Linked DNA regions of Homo sapiens: region 1 is linked to region 2. The links are contacts of gene promoters, found by promoter capture Hi-C in human tissues and cell types (Jung and others, 2019). All regions are on one chromosome and are shown on one strand. The core of a region is centred on a gene start or on the middle of the fragment in contact, and the rest is flanking DNA. Distances in the headings are between cores, read along the strand shown. Region 1 overlaps NFIX (nuclear factor I X). Region 2 holds the start of FARSA (phenylalanyl-tRNA synthetase subunit alpha).

Region 1 (5,252 bases), core at 1,849-4,348, 130 kb after region 2:
ATGGACCAGCCAGAGGTTCCCTGTGTAGGTGGGATTTGGAGGAAAGGCTGTTTAGTTTCCAGCCTCCAGGTGGGAGAAGGGCCCCACTTAAACATCTGATTATGGTGGGCATTTGTGTTTGTTGCTTGTCCATGAGCCCAGGGTCAGTCCCTGCTCCACCAAGGCAAGTCTCTGGGTGAAGGAGGCCCCTTTGGAGTCACCAGCCTGGGTACTGAGTGCTCTCTCACAGGGGTATTGAGTGCTCTCTCACAGGGGTTGAGGAAGTTAGCACCTGAGGAGGGGAGGCAGGTGGCTTCAGCCTAACTCCCACTTCCCCTTCCCCACAGGGTGAATTGAAGTCGGTGGGTTCTACAGTTCTAATCCCAGGCCCTGAGGTTTCCTGGATGGATTCTTCCAAGGAAAGGGAACAGTGGAGGGAGGCAGGAGCAGAACCCTGCTTAAGGCCAGAAAGAGAGCAGGGGGCAGAGAGAGGTGGTGGGGGAGGCTGATGCTCCCCAATCCCTGCCGACCCTCTGTCCTTTTTGATTTCCTCAGGCAAATAGGCAGAGAGCTTAGGGACCTTCCCCTGCCCTGGGCTAAAGTGAATTTCCTGCTCTATAGGGTCTCACTTCTTCCACCTTCCTTTTCTTAGCCAGTTGTTCCTTCTCTGAGCCTTCTCCTTTTCCTTTTCTTCTTCCTTCCCTCCCTTCCCCAGAAGCATTCAGGGGTGGGTGAGTAGGGGCTCCTTGTCCTGGGGTCTCCCCAGTTCCTCACTCTGCTGAGTGCCCACCAGACAGATGCTGGCAGCTGCATGCAGCCCAGCAGTTGTGCACACAAAGCCACTCTTGAGTATCTTTAGGAAAGTTTTCCTCTTTCTGTTTTTTTTTTTCTTCGCCCAAAGGAATAATTTCCTCTCTGCTCTTTTTTGTTTTTGTCCCCTTTCCCTGCCTCTCTCAGAATCTTGTACTGTACTGCTCTGATTCTTCTTGCCCCAGTCTTCTTTCTTTGCTTTGGCCCTGATTCTCTACTGTGGCTCCTCCTCTCTCTCCCTTTCTCTCTATCTTTTAGTTTTAGTTTTGTCTTTTGGTTGCTCTCTGGCTCTGGGGCTTCCTGCCTTCTCGCATCCCTCCTCCAAACTCCTGCTTGTCCCAGGCGCATCCCTTGAGTGGCCTGCAGAGCCTCCGCCTCCTGTTTCTCATACCAGGTTGGCATTAGAGTCTGGAGGACTCTGTCCCTTTATGAATAATTAGACCAAGGGCAAGTGTATTTGGGGGTAGGAGGAGGGTGATGCCCAGCCCTGGGAGGTTGGGACACTATTAATAGCCCTAAGAGCAGCTGGGGGTGAGGGTGATTGTCTGGCCAGCCTGTCCTGTCCTGGGCAGCTCAAAGGGCCAGAAAGGGCAGTGCTGGAAATAGAGAAAGCGGGTGGGGGTGGAAGAGCAGCTCTGCAGGCCCCTTGCTGGGATGGGACCCCCCCCCTCCCCAGGGCCCCTCTCTTTTCTTGACATGTGGGGTATGGAGGGCATTCTCCACTGTCAGTTTTTCTTCGTCAAGTTGGGGAGGGGATAGAAGCTTCAGGGGCTGGGGGCCGCTTGCCTGGACCCCACCATCACATGACTCTTGGCCCCAGGCCCTCTCAGAAATGCTGGCTCCAGCTGCCGGCTGAATCGTGGCACCAGCCAGCACTGCCAGGAGAGGCGCCTGGCCTGGACGCCCATGGGCCTGTGCCTGTGCTCCTGGTTTTCTCAGCTCTCTGTATTCCAAGGCTGGGCTGGGCTGGGCAGGCCTTGGGCCTAGCACTCCCAGAGTCTAGGGGGACAAGCTCTATCCTCCCTTTTCCCTGTTGGCCCTCTCTCCCCCACCCCTGTTTCTAGTATGGTGACTGTCTTGAGACCGTTGGATGGCTATTGCACACCGATGTGGGGAGGGATATGCCTGTACAGGTGTCTGCCCAGGCTCTGCCATTATATTTGCAGAGAAACCTCTCTGTTGCTCTTTGTAGATGGTAGTGGGCCAGGCCCCAAGGGAGCCCCTCTGTTCACTGGCAGTGGTCCCTGGGTCAAGACACCAAAAACTGCAATCTAGGACACACTCACCATGTACTCAAGAGCGTGAGCTCCTGGGGAGGGGAGCTGAGGGTCAGCCACAGCTTCCCCCACCAGGGTGGGAGGTGGCATTTGAACAGAGTTGAGAAGGAGGAATAAGCATTCAGCAAATGGAGATGAAGGGAAATAGTAATCCAGGTGGAAGGACAGGCGACATTTATGTAGCCCCAACTATGAGCCAGGCCCTGAGCTAAGCACCTTATTATACATGTTTTCTCATTTATTCCTTACCCAGGAATGCTAATGGTAGGTGTTATCTCCCTTTTACAGATGAGGAAACAGTTCATAACTTGACCAAAGTCACAGGCTGGTAGGTTCTGGAGCACGGATGTGAATTGGGGGAGCCTTGGTATGCCGTTGCTGGCCACCCACCTCCTTCCTCCTCCTACCCTCCATTTCAGCATGCCCCCTTCGGCCCCTCTGTGCTGGGGCAAGGCCAGCTCACCCAGGATAGGGTATCCACAGTGGTAGAGCACTGTGTTGTACCCCCTCAGTGGACACAGGCTCCAGACCAAGGGCACCTCCCTGGGTAGGCCAAGGGCAGGCTCAGAGGACAGGGGAAGCAGACCCAGGCCAATGGCTCCTGCCCAAGATGTTTTTCTTTGCCTTCTTCCTTGCCTGATCTTTGCCTGTCATCTTCAATCTCTTCTGCTCTGATGGGAATTCCTACCCCAGGTATCTCTGAAACACCCCAGACAGTGCTGCTGCCATGCCCTGGGTCCACTTGTTCCCTCCATAGTCAGGTATCTGAGGTGCTAGGTTTGGTGCTGGGTCACCTTGCCATGGGCAGACACAGGAGGAGCCTGCAGGCCCACTCGCATGTCCCATTGCTGCTGTGGCTGGGGGTCTCATTTATTAACTGTTGGGCTGATCCTGGAGTGGCCATTGGCAGGTGGGCCTTTGTCCACCTGCTGGGTGCTCTGTTGTGCACCAGGGGCATATCCCTTCTCTCTCTCCTTTGCTGGCCACTGCCTGTCATCCCTTGGGGAAGAGCAACTGAGCATTCAGTTCCCCAGTGCCTCCTGGCTTCTTCTGCCGCTCCATGCCTGGGCCCATCTAAAGGAGTTCTCCCTGGGCTGGGGACGGCTGCTAATGAACGGGAGCCAAGCAGAGAACGCTGAGTAGCTCACACCAGAAGAACTCCCTGGAGGGCTCCGGGGCCACTTGCTGGGGATGGAAGGGAGGTGGGAGTTCTATTGTTTTCCTGGAGGAAAATTTTAAGCTTAGGAACACCTTTCTCATTATATGAGGGAGGCAGTGATGGGCTGTGTGGCTGGAAGGCTTCTGGCTATGAGTCTATCTCCACATGGGGAGTGGAGGCAACCAAGGACTGTAGGAGACAGGCCTTCTTCACCTCGACACCGTGTGGGGCCTGAGGCTTTCAGATGAAGTGTGAGACTGCTCTGCTGGTCTCCTGGGTACAAGATGAGCTGATGGACTTGCTTTCTCCTCGCTTCCCGAAGCCTTACTGCCGAGCTGTGAGTCCTGTAGTAGCCAGGCCTGGCACTTGCTCCAGGGGCACCCGTAGAGGCCGGGATGTGTTGGAATGGAGAAAGTAGTTCTTCCTGGGGTCAGGGGATGGAGAGGGGAATGTCCCATCCAGATGCTGGCCCTTCATCTGCCAGGTTCCTGTGCCTTCCCTACCCCCCCGCCCCCAACAATGGCTTTTCTTGAGCCTAGGCCCTAGGGGCAGCCAGAGCAGGCCTAGACCACATGTGGGTGTCACTCGGTTTCTTCCTCTTTCCTGTCACTTATCCCCTCTGCCATGTCCTCTTCCCCCATCTCCAGCAGGTCAGTCAAGTCAAAGGCAGAAGCCCCTTTGGATCTGTGAGCAGGGAGGGAATGAGGAAAGGGGAGAGGACGATAATGGGGTGACATGTTCCCCTGTCCTTATCCCTGCCCCCACCCACAGCTTGCGGGCTCTGCTTCTTGTTCAGGCTCCGGCTTTAAACCATGTGAGACTCTAGGGATGACAGAGGAGGGAAAAACCTGCCACCTCAGGATGACTCCAGGATGTGTGTGTGCATGTGTGTGTGTGTTTGTGCACATGTGTGTGTGCACATGCATGGTGGCTGGTGGAGCAGGGTGAGGAATGGAGAGAAGGAGAGGAAGATCCTAGAAGCCCCGTGGGCCCAGACCCTGGCCAAGCCTCATCCCCCGGCCCTCTGGCTGCCCTGCATTCTCAAGGACTTCCTTGGTCCCCTGAGTCTCCTGTCTGCTGAGACGGGGAGAACCCCTCTGTGACCCGTCCCCTTAGCCCCCCATCTATCCACCGTTCCCCTCCTCAGGGTGTCTCAGATTCTCAGACTTCAGTTTCAGGAGGCACAATAGTTACATTCTCCAGCTCTGATTGCTACAGGCAGGGCCTCTGGCTCCCCTTGAGATTGGGTTTCCTGTGCCCTGGACGCTCCAGAATCTCAGAGGAAGCGGGAGAGAAGTAGGAGGCGGGTGCAGTGCTGGGAGGGCCAGTGATTGGCCCCAGAATCGCATCAGCCCTTCAGAGGATGGGGTGTTGCAGCTGCCCAGAGGCACCCCCAGAACAGAATGTACCCCCACTTGCTTCTGGAATGTCAGGCCTGGGAGGGCCAGGGGATGGGCAGGCACACCCCAAGGGCTGTTCTCCCCGTTTCCAAAGGCCAGCGGTTCCTGCAGAGTTGAAGGGGATTCCTCTCTGGTGGCTCCAGATGTACCATCTCACTCCACCCTTTCTGGACGGCAAGAAGTGGTTAGTGGCACCTCCGTGTGTGTGCGCGCGTGTGTGTGTGTGTGTGTGCGTGTGTGTGTGTGTGTGTGTGTATGTGTGTGTCTGAGTCTGAGCATATGAGTGTATGCATCCAAGTGTATGCACATACCTGGGTATGCATATGTGGGTTCAGCTAAGGCCAAATCTGTGCACACCCCTCAGCCTCCATAAAACTTGTTAGGCCAAAGTCCGTGGGGGCAATTGGCCAGCAAATTATACATGGCCCCTTTCACAGTACAAGTTTGTTTCGAGCAGGAGCTGAGGGCAGTGTTGGCTGTAGCCAGCAGGAATTCCTCCCTCACCCTAGTGGGAGCCATAACTACCTCCCCATCTGTAGGTGGAAAATATATATATATATATTAAAAACATGCATCCGGGCACGGTGGCTCACGCCTGTAATCCCAGCACTTTGGGAGGCTGAGACG
Region 2 (5,807 bases), core at 1,652-4,151:
TTTCTGCAGCGCTGGGTCCCAGGTTGAAAGCACAGCCCTTAAAGCTAGGTTCACATCCCAGCTATACAACTTTACAGCCAAGTGGTCTCAAGGGAAAGACTTCCCCTTGCTGTGTCTCCATTTCCCTTATGTAACACAGGGGTAGTAATAATGATAGTTTACACCTCCCAGGGTAAAGTACACCACTAAAGATGTTACCTGGCAGAAGACAAATTCTGTCGGTTTTGAACCTGTGACAGATTTTAATGTGAAAAATTAGGTGAACTGATATGTCTCCACATTTTTTTGTTTGTTTTTGTTTTCTTTGAAAGGGGGTCTCACCCTGTCACTAGGCTGGGTGCAGTGGTGTGATCATAGCTCACTGCAGCCTAGACCTCCTGGGCTCAAGCGATCCTTCCGCCAGTCCCGAGTAGCTGGGACTACAGGCATGTGCCGCCACACCTGGTTAATTTTTAAATTACTTTTTTTTTTTGAGACGGAGTCTTGCACTGTCGCTCAGGCTAGAGTGCAATGGTGCGATCTCGGTTCACTGCAACCTCTGCCTCCCGGGTTCAAATGATTCTCCTGCCTCAGCCTCCCGAGTAGCTCGGATTACAGGTGCCCACCACCACCCCCAGCTAATTTTTGTATTTTTAGTAGAGATGGGGTTTCACCATGTTGGCCAGGCTGGTCTCAAACTCCTGACCTCGTAATCGGCCGACTCCGCCTCCCAAAGTGCTAGGATTACAGGCGTGAGCCGCCGTGCCCGGCCCTTTAAATTACTTTTTAAAGACAGGGTGTTGTTATGTTGTCCAGGCTGGTCTCAAACTCCTGGCCTCAAGTGATTCTCCTTCCTCAGCCTCCCAAAGTGCTGGCATAATGGGCATGAGCCACCATACCCAGCCTGTCTCCATGTTTAAATGTTCACATGTCAGTGCCCAGAATGTCAGAGACGGGCCCTGGAGGTCCACATTACAAACAAAAACTGAGGTTCCAGGTCCAGAGTCATGAAGACAAGGACAACAAGGGTAAGTAGAGTGCACAGGGCCTGGCTCCCACTTCATTCTAATCCCAACTCTGCCCTTCACTTACTGTGTGACCTCAGGAAAGTTGCTTAACCTCTCAGTGACTCTTCTCATCCATAAGAGAAAGGTGTGATGGGTTCTACCTCAGATGATTTTAAGGAGTAGCTAAATTAATACTCAGAAAGAATATATAGTGCCTACCACGTGACAAACACTGCATAAATTTTTTTTTTTTTTTTTTTTGAGACGGAGTCTCGCTCTGTCGCCCAGGCTGGAGTGCGATCTCGGCTCACTGCAACCTCCACCTCCCGATTCAAACAATTCTCTGCCTCAGCCTCCCAAGTAGCTGGGATTACGGGTGCCCACCAACACGCCTGGCTAATTTTTTTTTGTATTTTTAGTAGAGACAGGGTTTCATCATCTTGGCCAGGCTGGTCTTGAACTCCTGACCTCGTGATCCACCCGCCTTGGTCTCCCAAAGTGCTGGGATTACAGGTGTGACCACTGCACCCGGCATAAATTCTAATTACTATAATTATTTTTATGGCTATTACTGTCATTAGATTGAACCTCACCTCCTTATATTATTTAACCCTCTGTGACGTATACAAATGTCAGATCATATTGGTCAAGGCACTGTCACCCCACACAACACAGCTGCCATCTCTCCTCTGCATTGAGGACTATGGGCTCTGCAGCCTGAGTGCCTAATTTCAAATCTGGGCTCATCGGCCTCTTCTATTCACACTGATTATGTTACTGACCATCAGTTGTCACATCTGCAAAATGGGAATAACATGGCCATCAGCCAGGATTATGGAATGGATTGGACAAACAAGCTGAGACCAAAGTGGGGCACAGAACATGAGCTCTACGGATAAACAGCCCAGATCCTGGCCCCATGGATCTAGCCTTCTGGGTGGCCCACGGGCCCCTCAGCATCCTACGCCTGTGACTCTGTCACTGTCCACTTGCCCAAGTCAGAAGGCTGGACTTCATCTGTGCGCCCCCTGCCTTGTCCTGAATCCCACGCCTTCCCCACCTCCCCCAAGCTTCCTTCCCATAGCCAGACATCATGCCCTCCAGCTTGGGGAAGTGCCAGCTTCTTCTTTCATCCCTTCACCTCCAGTCCTGTCCATGCCAATTCTTCCCAAAGGTGATGTGGATAGCACACTCATCTGACCGGCTCTAGCTCCTGCTATCGCTTCCCAGTTCCCTCATGAGGTAAAGACCTAAGAGGCTTTGCAATTACAGCTATGCTGGTCTCCCTTGCCGCCTGCCATCCCCCAAGATCCCGGCCACTGATCTCTAAAGTGCTATCACTTTCCTCAACAGAGAACAGACTCAGCCGTCACCTGCACCAGGCCGCTCTCCCTGACCCCCAAGGCTGGGTCAGCTGTCACAGCTGGGTCCCCTGTTTTCCCCCATCACTCTGGTTCTTGAAGCACCTTCCTATTACGTCGCAACCTGCGTGAGGGCAGCAACCGCGACTTCCTCGTCCATCATCGTACCCTCTACCCACGCTGACCGTGCCTCAATAAACGTTTATTGCATGAGGAACATCCGTGCGTCTGGGCCCTCACTCGTCCCACTTCCCGCCCGCACATCCCGGAGTGGACACATATACAGCTACCCCAAACTAGGCCTGAGGGAATTTGGCTTGGACGTAGAGCGCCCGTGGCAAGGGGACTGTAGGTGCAAGGGCAAGGCGGTCCGGCATCACGGGCCCGGCTCACCTCGCCCAGCGCCTGAAGGCTCTTCACGGCGCCCACCACCGCCTGGTGCTCCATGCCCAGCTCAGCCGCCAACTCGGCGCTGTCCAGGCCGCCATCAGACGCCTCCAGCCGCCGGAGCAGCAGTTCCGCCACCTGACCATCCGCCATGACTCCTTCCAGTGTGCTCAGCGTGTCCGGGCCCGGGTGGGCGGGGGGAGCTGAGCCACCGGAACCGGAACCGGAGTGTGTACCGCCATCTTGAATGTGTCTAACTGTAGAACAGGGCTCAATGTGTCGTCATCTTGAGTGTGGCGACGGAGCCGCAAAAGGTGCATGGGACTCAGTTCCCACCTCCACCCTGGCTCCATCAATGGCGTCTGGTTGACCAGAGGGGTAAAATTGATTATCTCAAGGTCAGAAGCACCGCCCTGTTTTGAGTTTTATCTAGCCTCACTTCGAGCGGGCTGTGTGACCTTGGACTTCCCCGTCTCTGGGTTACAGAACCCTCTGCCCTTCTGGTATTCTCTCTTGCCCTAGGAGAGGCGGTGGGTGGTGGGCTCCAGAGATGGTCATTTTGGCGATGTCAGCTACTTTTAAAATTTCAAAGGAAGGCTGGGTAGGTACCGTCCCTTTTTATAGAGGGAAAAGGAATTCACCTAGTAAGTCAAGGTGGCACCTAACCTGTGTGGACTACCTCGTATGTGGTAGTACTTAGCCCAGAACTGAGTACTTCACGTGTAGTATTTCATTTATCCCCAAAACTTTATGATGTAGATACTGATATAACCGCATTACACATGTGAGAAAACTGAGGCTCAGAGGGTGGTATGACTTGCCCAAGGTTCTACAGAGAGTTGGTGGAAATGAAGTCATAAATTATAAACCTTCCAGATCCTCCCACCCCTGTGCGCTGAGAGTAACGTCAGTGCAAATACTGCATGGCCTAGATTAGCACTGTCCTATAGAAACACAGTGCAAAACATCTTTCTTTTTTGAGACAGGGTCTTGCTCTGTCACCCATGCTGGAGTGCAGTGGTGCAATTATGGCTTACTGCAGCCTTGACTTCCCAGGCTCTAAGGATCCTCCAACCTTAGGCTCCTGAGTAGCTGGAACTGCAGGTGCGCGCCACCACACCCAGCTTTTTTTTTTTTTTTAAGTATGGGTTTTGGCCATGTTGCCCAGGCTGGTCTCAAACTCCTAGGCTCAGGTTATCCTCCTGCATCGGTCTCCCAAAATGCTGGCATTAGAGGCATGACCCACCTCGCCCAGCCAGCCAGACCCTGACTCTTACAAAAAAAAAGATGACTAATAAAATATTTTGCACTCGGCCGGGCACAGTGGCTCACCTCTGTAATCCCAGCACTTTGGGAGGCCGAGGCGGGTGGATCACCTGAGGTCGGGAGTTTGAGACCAGCCTGACCAACATGGAGAAACCCCGTCTCTACTAAAAATACAAAATTAGCAGGGCGTGGTGGCGCATGCCTGTAATCTCAGCTACTTGGGAGGCTGAGGCAGGAGAGTCGCTTGAACCTGGGAGGCAGAGGTTGTGGTGAGCCGAGATCGTGTCATTGCACTCCAGCCTGGGTGACAAGGCGAAACTCCGTCTCAAAAAAAAAAAAATTGCACTTTTTTTCATACTAAATCTTCAAAATCTGATGCGTATTTTACACTTACAACACATCTCAGTTCGGACCAACCACATTTCAAATGGTCAGTAATCACATGTGGGCAGTGGTGACTTACGTCAGCACAGGTAGATTAGAATCCTAGATCTGCTGGCCAGGCTCAGTAATCCCAGCACTTTGGGAGGCTGAGGCGGGTGAATCACCTGAGGTCAGGAGTTCAAGACCAGCTTGGCCAAGATGGCGAAACCCCATCTCCTCTAAAAACACAAAAATTAGCTGGGTGCAGTGGGGGTGCCTGTAATCCCAGCTACACGGGAAGCTGAGGCAGGAGAATCACTTGAGCCTGGTAGGTGGAGCTTGCAGTGAGCAGAGATCGCACCACTGCACTCCAGCCTCGGTGACAGAGCAAGGCTCTGTCTCAAAAAAAAAAAAAAAAAAAAAAAAGAATCCTAGATCTGTTATTTATGTCATTCAACCAGAAGGTGTAGTCTTTCTGTGCCTCAGTTTCTTGCTCACATGGAGGTGATTGGAGCCCAGGTTACTGTGAGAATTAAATGCCCACACATATTCACACTGCTTACTAAATTGAGTGTGGCCCATGTTCGAACACTCTTATAAGCAGAACACATTTATTCCTTTTACATCACAATTATTATTTGAGTCTGTAAAATGGGATTACTCATATCCCCAAATCCTGACCCTATATGAGGTTCTGTATTAAGGATACATTTCTCAAAGTCCCTTCTCTCCTCCCATTTTATGTTGATTATTTATTTATTTATTTAGGGAGTGGGTCTCACTCTATTGCCCAGGCTGGAGTGCAGTGGCATGATCTTGGCTGACTGCAGCCTCCACCTCCTGGGCTCAAGCAATCCTCTCACCTCAGCCTCCCGAGTAGTTGGGACTACAGGTGTGTACCAGCAGGCCAGGCTAATTTGTGTTATGTATATTATATATTATATGCTATATATAATATACATACTATTCATATATTTATGCATTATATGTCATATATAATATATTACATATGTGTACATATATATATTTTGTAAGAATGAGGTTCCACCATGTTGCCCAGGCTGGTTTTGAACTGCCGGGCTCAAACAATCTGCCTGCCTCAGGTTCCCAAGGTGCTAGGATTATAAGTGTGAACTACCATGTCCGGCTTATTTTTATTTATTTTTGAGACAGGGTCTTGCTCTGTAACCCAGGCTAGAGTGTGCAGTGGCAACAACACAGCTCACGGCAGCGTCAACCTCCTGGTCTCAAGTGATCCTCCTGCCTCAGCCTTCTGAGTAGCTGGGAACACAGGCAGGCGCCACCACGCCTGGCAATTAAAAAAAATGTTTTTGTAAAAATGGCCTCCTGCTATGTTGCCCAGGCTGGTCTTGAACTCCTGGCCTTAAGCATTCCTCCCATCTTGGCCTGCCAAAGTGTTGGGATTACAGGCGTGAGCCACTGT

The links. The method cuts DNA at HindIII sites, captures the fragments that hold promoters and counts their contacts. A contact is called where the count stands out against the background at its distance.
Region 1: a contact is called between a fragment that was not itself captured here and the fragment with the promoter of FARSA in region 2, in 2 of the 25 tissues and cell types used here (lymphoblastoid cells and spleen).

The regions. Positions count from the first base shown.
Region 1 is chr19:13,062,626-13,067,877 of GRCh38, forward strand. The region is part of intron 2 of NFIX (nuclear factor I X); the gene reads left to right. Among named protein-coding and RNA genes, the nearest start is that of LYL1, 38 kb to the right of the region's middle. The HindIII fragment of the contact is 5,516 bases long and covers 341-5,252 here.
Region 2 is chr19:12,930,810-12,936,616 of GRCh38, forward strand. It overlaps FARSA (phenylalanyl-tRNA synthetase subunit alpha), which reads right to left and starts at 2,902. Exons shown (of 13, transcript NM_004461.3): 1 at 2,741-2,902. The coding sequence starts at 2,887. FARSA-AS1 (FARSA antisense RNA 1) reads left to right here. Exons shown (of 3, transcript NR_149078.1): 2 at 2,161-2,228; 3 at 2,340-2,487. RefSeq lists enhancers at 2,505-2,574, 2,585-3,084, 2,806-3,100 and a silencer at 4,137-4,242. The HindIII fragment of the contact is 13,322 bases long and covers 1-5,807 here.